Linked DNA regions of Homo sapiens: regions 1 and 3 are each linked to region 2. Evidence: promoter capture Hi-C in 16 types of primary human blood cells and fetal thymus (Javierre and others, 2016). All regions are on one chromosome and are shown on one strand. Each heading gives the region's core, a stretch centred on a gene start or on the middle of the fragment in contact. The rest is flanking DNA. Distances are from core to core; before and after follow the strand shown.

Region 1 (2,910 bases), core at 403-2,902, 290 kb before region 2:
GAAAAGAAAAGATTACTTTGGCCTTAGTGTGAGAGAAATTTAGGTAGACCTACAGGCTAGGAACAGATTTGAAGAAATGATGGGTCTTAACTGGAGAAGTAGCAATGAGGTGGGAGAGAAGGAGATCCATTGGAGAGTTATCTCATAGGTGGATTTTTCAGGGTTTGGTGACTTATTGAATGTGGGCTGTGAAGGAGAGTGGCCTATATACTATGGCCTTTACACTTCCAGTTCAGTTTCCCAGTAGATGGCAATGCCATTCTCTAAGAAAGGAAGTATAAGAGGTGGAGATAACTTAGGGGCAAAATTGAGAGCAAGGGGTATAAGATTATTTGTTGGCTTGGGATATGGTCAGTTTAAATGTTTACGGTTCATGCATATGGAGATTTCCAGGGGCTATTTGAAAACACAGAGCTGACTTTGAGAGGAGAAGTATAATCTGAAGGAAAGCAAACAAATATAGAAGTCATATTTTCAACTCCTTCATTTCACCCCAAGAAAGCTAATACTTAGAGACTAAAACTTCTAAGGGACTTACCATATGGCTAGTTTTTGAAAAGCCGTAACCAGAAACCAAATCTCTTGGGTTTAGGTCAATCCACCCATATCCTGATTGAGTTTCATTATGCTCTATTTACCTTCATGGTTCCCCAATCTAACAATGCCTGGCATACAGCAAGTGCTAAAAATGTTTGTGGAATGAATATACTGATTGTGGCCTTTTTTGGTGGGGGTAGAACTGGCCCCACACCTTCACATCATCACTGGAATTATGCCTCAGAAGCATCTTGGAAGTCAGCAGACCTAGGGAAGTCCTACTTAGCCATGAAATTTGCATTTCCCCAGGTACCTCCCAACCCCTCTCCACTTCCTCTGAGAGCAAAACCTCCGTTGTTCATGTCACACCCATGGGCAGCCTTTGTGCTCAGTACACAGACCTGATTGAGAAGATTGATAAAAGCAAAATAGAAAGAAGCCGTGATCTGGGTCATATGAGTTATACAACCATTTCCCTCTTATTTTACACTTGGGGAAACTTAAGCTAAGAGATCTTGTCTTAATTCATTAAAATTAGAGTTGCCAGCCCAGAAGAGAGGAAGGAGAAGTTTGGGACAGAGGAAGGCAACTAATACTTATTGAGCACTTACTGTATGGCAGACTTTATGTGGAATGATTTATTGAGGTTATCTCATTTAATCCTGATTTTAAAAATCATCCACATACGGAAACCGAGGTTTAGAAAGTTTACTTTTCCTGAGGTTCAGAAGCTGGTAAATGACGGTTCTGGAACTCAAACTCAAGGCTGTCTGGCTCCAAAGGTCATGCTCCTTCCCCTATACCACACAACCTCCCAGAAGCTTGAAATGTGGTTCTGGGTACTAGGTATAAGCTTGAAGACCAACCAAACATGCTCATTCCAGTGCTCTCTCTAGGAGCCAACAAGCCCTCCAACATTGCCCCCCTAGAAGGTCCTGCAAAATTGAGTTGTCTAGGGTTTGACAGAGTCCAGAAGACATTTTCGAACATAAGAAGGGCAATGGGTCAAGCCCCAGGGAGTACCCAGTAGTATCAACAAAGAAAGGAGAATGTGTATTTGACTTCCAGCCTCAGCCCTGCTGGTAACTTGCCAGACGGCCTTGGCCTGGCCACTTCCTTCCTGTCCTCCACCAAGATTACAGAAAATTAGGAAATGCAAATTTTATGGGCTTCCCTGCTGACGATTTCTAAGTCTTCTTTGTAGTAATCATTCCTATCACAAAGAGGGTGGGAAACGGTGATTATGGACCAGGGAGAGAGTCCTATTCCTAAGAAGTGGTTCTTGGACTTTGGAGAGGCAACAATTGGTTTGAGTCTTAACAAATGAGTGGGAGTTTGTTAGGTCAACGAGGAGTGGGAGGGGATTCCAGGAAGTGTAAAAGCTTGAGCAAAGGCATTGAGTAAATTCGGGGAACTGCTAGCAGTTCAGGAAGGTTGCAGCATTCAGTGCAAAGGAGGGGCCAAACTAGAAATTGGACAGGAGAAAATCACAGAAACCAAGCCACATAAGGATCAGTAGAACCCTGTAGGCTCTCCAACGAGCCTATCCTTGAAGGATTTAAGCATGAAAATGTTGTCATTATTAAACCTAGGCTTTAAAGAGGTCCTTCTGCTCTGTGTTGCTGTCCTCTGCCAGAGATAGCAAGACTGACAGAGGCTGTGCTCCTGTAGCCTGGGAGCCAGAATGGAGAGACACATTGGGCAGAGCCCGGCAGAGTCACAGGAACTTGTAGTCCCCATCTGTTTATTATTCATGGAAGCTTTCTCCTTTTCTTGATTGGATCAACAGAAAAATAAACTGTCGTCTTTGGCAGATGATTCAATGGGAATTCAAGGGTTTCAATGGGAATTCAAGGTTGAAAATGATAATGTACTCTGAGAACTCACAGGTCTATAAAAGGAGAGGCCTATACAAGGAAAGAAGAGGATGTGGTAAATGCAGAACAGACCCTCAGCATCTTGAAGGACCATCAAGGGGAAATAAGTATTGCAGACCTTTCATTAATCTGTGTAGTTAACTTTTTATTTGAAAATAATGTCAAAAGAGCTGCAAGAAAAAATTATTATTAATAATAGTACAAAGAACACGCTTATAAATATCCTGCAGGGAGGGGTCTACAAGTTGGCTGTGACTGTGAATACCTCTCTGTAATGTTTTGCCCATTTTGCTTTAATATTAGCTAGTTCTCTCTCTCTCTCTCTTTCTGTCTCTATTTGAACTATTATAGGGTAGGTTGCATATGGCATGGCTCTTTATCTTAAATACATCAGTGTAAAGAATTAGGATAATTTCTGACACAACTACAATATAGTTATCACTTAAGTAAATTTTACATTGATAACAATATTCTTGTCTAACCTACTGTTTGCATT
Region 2 (2,936 bases), core at 273-2,772:
TTGTAATACAAAGAAGTCTGGAAACCAAAGCTGAAAAATTAACAGAGGCCAGTGGATGAAGGGCCATGTATATAAGTCTAAAAGCCTAGAAATCATTCCAAAAGCCTGGCAGAGCGGGAAAAAGTGTAAAATTACAGGACTCAGGCCAGGCACAGTGGCTCATGCCGGTAATCCCAGCACTTTCGGAGGCCGAGGAGGGTGGATCACAAGATCAGGAGTTCAAGAACAGCCTGGTCAATATGGTGAAACCCCATCTCTACTAAAAATACAAAAATTAGCTGGGGTGTGGTGGTGCACACCTGTAATCCCAGCTACTGGGGAGGCTGAGGCAGGAGAAGCTCTTTAACCCAGGAGACGGAGGTTGCAGTGAGCCGACATCACGCCACCGCACTCCAACCTGGGCAACAGAGCAAGACTCCGTCTAAAAAAAAAAAAATTACAGGACTCAAGGTAAAATCCAGACAAACCCTGATGACAGTGCCTCCTTGAGCAGACACTTAACATCTCTGATCCTTTTTCTTCATCTTTAAGATGTCATTAATAACTTCTTTATACGCATGGAGATCAAATGAGATGACATATGTAAATGTGCTTTTTTTAACTGATGGATTGAAATAAACAATAAACCCAGTATCAATGAAAAAATATCACTATTGTGCCTACTGGAAGAATAGAATTGTGAGGATTCTATTCTCACAATATCCTCCTCTGCGACTAGAGGAGGGTGTACCCTGGACACAGCACTGATCACCCAGCTGCCTCTGGAGATCCCAAGGCCAAGGCCACAAGAGCAGCTGAGCAGGGACACAGTTCTTACTCTCTCACCCCATGAACCCCTCACAGCCACAGAAGCAGAGAATCAAGCCCTAGGAAATACCTGAGCTAACACCCTGACTGCTTCAGACCAGACCCCAGGAGAGGCCAGAAATCAGCACCCAGTCCACACCTCAAGTTGGCTGCCTAGCCTGGGTTCCCTGCCTCTCCAGAACTTCCCCTTTGACCCTTGACTTCAGAGCCCTGCCCAGCTCTACTCCCTCCAGGCCCTGCACAGCAGAGGGGAGCCCAGGAAACTGCAGCTCCTACTCTCAGAAGCCATTTACCTGCACTGCACCCACTGGTGGCCACAGAGAAGAATAACAGGAAGCAGAGTCTGGTCATTGTCCTCTAAGGAAAAACAAGATGCACAAGGTCACTGGCTGGCCCTTCCTTTGTCATCCTCTCGTTCTTACTTCCTAACCTTTCTGAGTCAGGAATCCTCAAATGGAAAGTGATGGGCTCATGAGCATTCTAAAACCTCCTGGAATATGCCCCACGGCTGTCCAACACTACAAATACCCAAGGGGCCATGGGCTCATTTCCCTGAAACTCTAAATCTCTAAAACTGAGACCTGAGCTGGCATCATTGCTCCCACACACATGGATCAAAAACATTTTTCTCACCAGCATGGACAGCATCCTTACAGATGCCAGGAGCTGATAGTTCCCTTCCTGTGGACACTCGGAGCTCCCCTGCAGAGGATCCTGATGAAGGGTGAAGTGCTGGTCCCTTTATGTGGAGAGCTGTGGAGAGCCAAACCACCTGAGCCCTGCCCAGCCCAACCCTGAGCAGCCTAGGCTGCTAGCCCCTCCCTCTGAAGCCCTTCCCTCTGAGGGTACCTGAGCCTGGGACCGTGGAAATGAGAAAGGACGTGCGACTGGCTGGAGGAGCAGGGAGCTGTGTTCCTGGCCACACAGGTGACTGTCGCCATCTGAGGAGGGGCATCCTGCTTTGCCAAGGCAGGCCATACAATGTAGCAGTATCTAATCAGATTCGTGGATAGGTCACAATCCTCCCCTGCGTTCTCCCTCTCCCACCTCCCCCAGATGCCCTGGCCCCCTAGACACAACTCTGTCAAGAAATCATCCTTTTAGACTGAGGTGACACCTCATGAAAAATAAATTAATTAATTAAGAATAATAATTGGCCAGGCACAGTGGCTCACACCTATAATCATAGCGCTTTGGGAGGCCGAGGTGGGCGGATTACCTGAGGTCAGGAGTTCAAGACCAGCCAACATGGTGCAACCCTGTCTCTACTAAAAATACAAAAATTTAGCTGGGTGCAGTGGCGTGCACCCGTAATCCCAGCTACTCTGGAGGCTGAGACAGGAGAACTGCTTGAACCCAGGAGGTGGAGGTTGCAGTGAGCCAAGACTGCTCCACTGCACTCCAGCCTGGGCAACAGAGCAAGACTTCACCTCAAAATAATAATAATAATAATAATAATAAATAAATGGGAAAAGAAGACATCATCCTTCCAATCTTTCCTCCAATTTCTCTATGAGGCCTTCCCTGACACCCCCATCACCAGACAAAGCTGATGGATCCTTCCTTTGTCCCACTATACACTGTCCAAACACTAATTATTGCATGTATCCTGCTGTAATTTTATTGTTTTATTAACTCTGTTTAGAAACAATTTGAAATTTATTAAATGTTGCAAAAATAACAATAATATAAAGCCACATATATGCCCTTTACCTAGATTCAACTATTGTTAATATTTCACCCCATTTGCTTTATCTTTCGTGTTCTCTCTCTCTCTCTCTATATATATATAGATATATGTATATAAAATACACCCACACACACAAAATTTTTTTCTGAACCATTTGAAGGTAAGGTACATACATCATGGGCTTTTACCTTTAAATAAATGCGTATGGGTTTTTTTTATTTTGTTTTGTTTTTTGACACAGAGCCTCACTCTGTCACCCAGGTTGGAGTGCAATGGCATGGTCTCAGCTTACTGCAACCCCCGCCTCCCAGGTTCAAGTGATTCTCCTGTCTCAGCCTCCCGAGTAACTGGGATTACAGGCACCCACCACCACGCCCAGCTAATTTTTGTATTTTTAGTAGATACGGGGTTTTGCCATCTTGGCCAGGCTGGTCTTGAA
Region 3 (3,165 bases), core at 497-2,996, 270 kb before region 2:
TAAGGGTCCCCAAAACTCTAAGAGACTGCGTCTCATTTAGCTCCCGCTTACTAAGGACTTGTCAGCCACTGTGATAGGCAGTTACGTGTCTTGTCTCATTGAATCCTTAGCACGAGATAGGAACTGTTATTTTGTCCTTTATTTAGGAAGAACATGACTTGGGGAAGCTAAGTAACTTGTTTAGCTAGTAAGTGACAGTCCTAGAAGTGACCCCAGGTATGACTGACTCTAAAACCCATGGCCTTAGCTGTCCCATGCTAGCACCAGTGTAGGCCTGATCTAGAGCCAGGTGTGACACTCATGAGTGGATCCTCCCAGGAGACAGGGGAATCTGGCTTCCTAAGTTCATCTAGGAACATCAGGCTGGGGAGGAGAAGCTTCGCCTGAGGCTCAGGCTCTCACGCCTCCTCGACGGCCTCTCTCAGGCCCGTCTCCTCAGTCCCTCTTTCCCTGGCTGACTTTGGCGGTCTAATGACCTCGGTCCCTCTTTCCTTGGCTGACTTCGGCTGTCTAATGAAGCCCCTCTAGACAGCTGCTCGCCCACTTGCCCTTCCTTCTCCCTGCTCACCCTGATGTTTCAGTCTACTCTATGATGACCCTGGCCTCAGATGTTAGGACTATGCTTTGTTAGAGCGGGAGAGGGAAGAGGAGTATCAGAGATCTCTCCCAAACGTCCTTTGCAGGTGAGAACACTGAGCCCCCACGAAGTTGAGGTAAGCTGGCTGGGAGGTGGTGGTAGAGCTGGTGGCAGAACCCACGTCTCCCAGCTCTCCCAGACACCTTAGGGATTCACCACCACACTGTGCAAGGAGGCTGAATAGGACCCCCAGCCTTTCTTTGTTCAAAACAACTCCAGTTACCCTGTGCCCCCCTCAGCTCCCAGGGATCCTTCTTACCCAGGGTACAGGGTGGACTGAGGCAGACCGTGCCATTCTTGCTGCTCACAGAATTGCTGACTTGGCAAGTATAACACCTGGAGTAATTATGTGGCATAAGGGTGGTTTCAAGCACACTGTTCTGGAGCTCCTTTGGGAAGGGCCTTTTGTCCCCATACCAGGTGTAGTTTACAGACTCGCCAGGTATCACACATGACAGTTTCAGATAACAGTTGTCATCCATGTCTTCTATCTTCTCAATTTTGATGACAGGCTTGGGTACAGGGTCTGAAAGTGAGGAGGATGTTATAAGATGAGACAGTGAGGCATTCATGCTGTGAAGGTTTAGCCAACAAAGAACAAAGGGATCCAGGGAAGGGGCCTGAATGCCCCAGGAGGCAGAGTCATGAAGAAGAAGTTCTACAGAGGGAGCCAGTGAGCAGCCTTGACCTCCTGAGGCCTCACAGACTCACTGCAAGAGCGGCTTCTAGGCAGTGAAGCTAAGCTGCGTCCTGGAGGGGGCGCCACAGTCCATCATATGCTCTGGGAACAAAATGGGGTTATGATCGTGTGTGAGCCTGAACGAACAGCCCAGAGACTTGCTGGGGTCAGACTTAGTATATCAACTGCCTGAGATGCTCAGGGACCCTTCTCTAGCAACGGTTCATGGCGGGCACCTTGGCTGGTCTGTCTTTCCAATTATCGGATTCAGCTTCAGCAAGAGTCCTAAGGTAAGAGGTACCTGTCTGCGCGTGGCAAAGTCCTTTGCACAACCATCCAGTGCAGGTGCCAGCCTTCTAGACTCTGGCAGAGCTACAGAGAAGAACTTCATGTAACTTCCAGCCGCATCAATTGTGATAAACAGATTGGTCTGCTAACTTTGGTATCTCCATGTCTAGCACAATCCCTGCCACATGGCAGGTATTCTATAAGTATCTCATGAAAGGATGAATGAAGTAGTTATGAGATAGAAAGGATAAAACACAGCCGGGTGCAGCGGCTCACACCTGTAATCTCAGCAATTTGGGAGGCTGAGGCAGGAGGATTGCTTGCAGCCAGGAGTTAAGAGACCAGCCTGGGCAACATTGAGAGACTCAGTTTCTAAAAAAAAAAAAGAAAGAAAAGAAAAGAAAAGTAGCCAGGTGTGGTGGTGTGCACTTTTAGTCCCTGCTACTCAGGAGGCTGAGGTAGGAGGATTGCTGGAGCCCAGGAGTTCCAGGGTGCAATAAACTATGATTATACCACTGCACTCCAGCTTGGGTAAGGAGAAGACCTTCAAAAAAAAAAAAAAAAGAAGAAAGAAAGGAAGAAAGAGAGAGAGAAGGGAAGAGAAGAGAGGAAAAAGAAAAAGAAGGGAGGGAGGGAGGGAGGGAGGCAAGTAGACACAAAAACACTAGTTTTGGAGTGAGACCAGCCTGGGTCCTGGACTTGACTCTAGTGGAGTGACATTAGGCAAGGTAGTTAACCCCCTTGCTGTCATCTGTAAACTGACTCTACCTCATCGCGCAATGTTAGTAAGATAAAACGTCACCTGTCATGGATAATTGCTTTTTGAAGAGTGTAAGTATTGCATACATTCTAGAGGCCATTTTACCATTATTACTGTTGTACTGCTGCCGGAGAGAATGAGAGATAGTCCCAGCATCTGGTCCTTCCTTGGCTAAGGCCGGTTTACCTGCAATCCTCTGAGATCTTTTCATTCTGGTCAGGGTGAAACATCTGCAGAATCAATGCAACTCAAATCCCATAAGATTAAAAATTGGCAGAGAATTGACCAGATCAGAGCTTGCCTCTTGGTTGTATGTGTGGAGAGGCTCTAGAAGCTCTACCAATCTGGTCTCTAGAACTCTAGTTTTGTCTCCTCTGTGAAGCTGATCTCAGATCGCTAAAAGATTGCTCAGACTACAGAGGTGATAAAAGTTTCCTGGACTTCCCCTATATGTTTTAATTGAGCAATTTTTATCCTGGTTTTCACCATTTCCTGTGTTCTAGCCTCATATCTTACACTCCTTCTGCATTTCCCATGGTGATCAGCACAGCACTGGGCACTTTGCTGATGGAATTAATTGAGCCAGCTTGGGTTGTCCAGCTCCAAGATGCTCGCTTTGAGCTGTCAGAAATGCTTGGGCTGGACCAGAGGACCATTTTTTCTGCTAATCACTTCCTGGAAATCTTACCCTCAGGCAGGATGTGCTGAAGCCCAAGCCAGTTTGTGGATTTTTAAGTACTCAGAAATTTTGCAAGCTTTTTGTGAAACCATTAGTTTATTGAAATCAACTGTGGTAGCAGT

What was found. Contacts are between HindIII fragments. The CHiCAGO score rates a contact against its expected background, and 5 or more counts as called.
Region 1: a fragment that was not itself captured here is called in contact with the fragment with the promoter of ITLN2 in region 2 in 2 of 17 cell types (M2 macrophages and total B cells); the score reaches 8.0 in M2 macrophages.
Region 3: a contact is called between a fragment that was not itself captured here and the fragment with the promoter of ITLN2 in region 2, in 15 of 17 cell types (total B cells, naive CD4 T cells, total CD4 T cells and 12 more). The highest score is 14.5, in total B cells.

The regions. Positions count from the first base shown.
Region 1 is chr1:160,664,048-160,666,957 of GRCh38, forward strand. No RefSeq gene overlaps it. Among named protein-coding and RNA genes, the nearest start is that of SLAMF1, 18 kb to the left of the region's middle. RefSeq lists enhancers at 1,374-1,433, 1,447-2,008. The HindIII fragment of the contact is 529 bases long and covers 1,389-1,917 here.
Region 2 is chr1:160,953,287-160,956,222 of GRCh38, forward strand. ITLN2 (intelectin 2) reads right to left here and starts at 1,523. Exons shown (of 8, transcript NM_080878.3): 1 at 1,441-1,523; 2 at 1,101-1,164. The coding sequence starts at 1,455. The HindIII fragment of the contact is 24,751 bases long and covers 1-2,936 here.
Region 3 is chr1:160,680,306-160,683,470 of GRCh38, forward strand. CD48 (CD48 molecule) reads right to left here. Exons shown (of 4, transcript NM_001778.4): 3 at 897-1,163. LOC124904439 (endogenous retrovirus group K member 18 Env polyprotein) reads left to right here and starts at 2,901. Exons shown (of 1, transcript XM_047438433.1): 1 at 2,901-3,165. RefSeq lists an enhancer at 1,129-1,218. The HindIII fragment of the contact is 2,742 bases long and covers 376-3,117 here.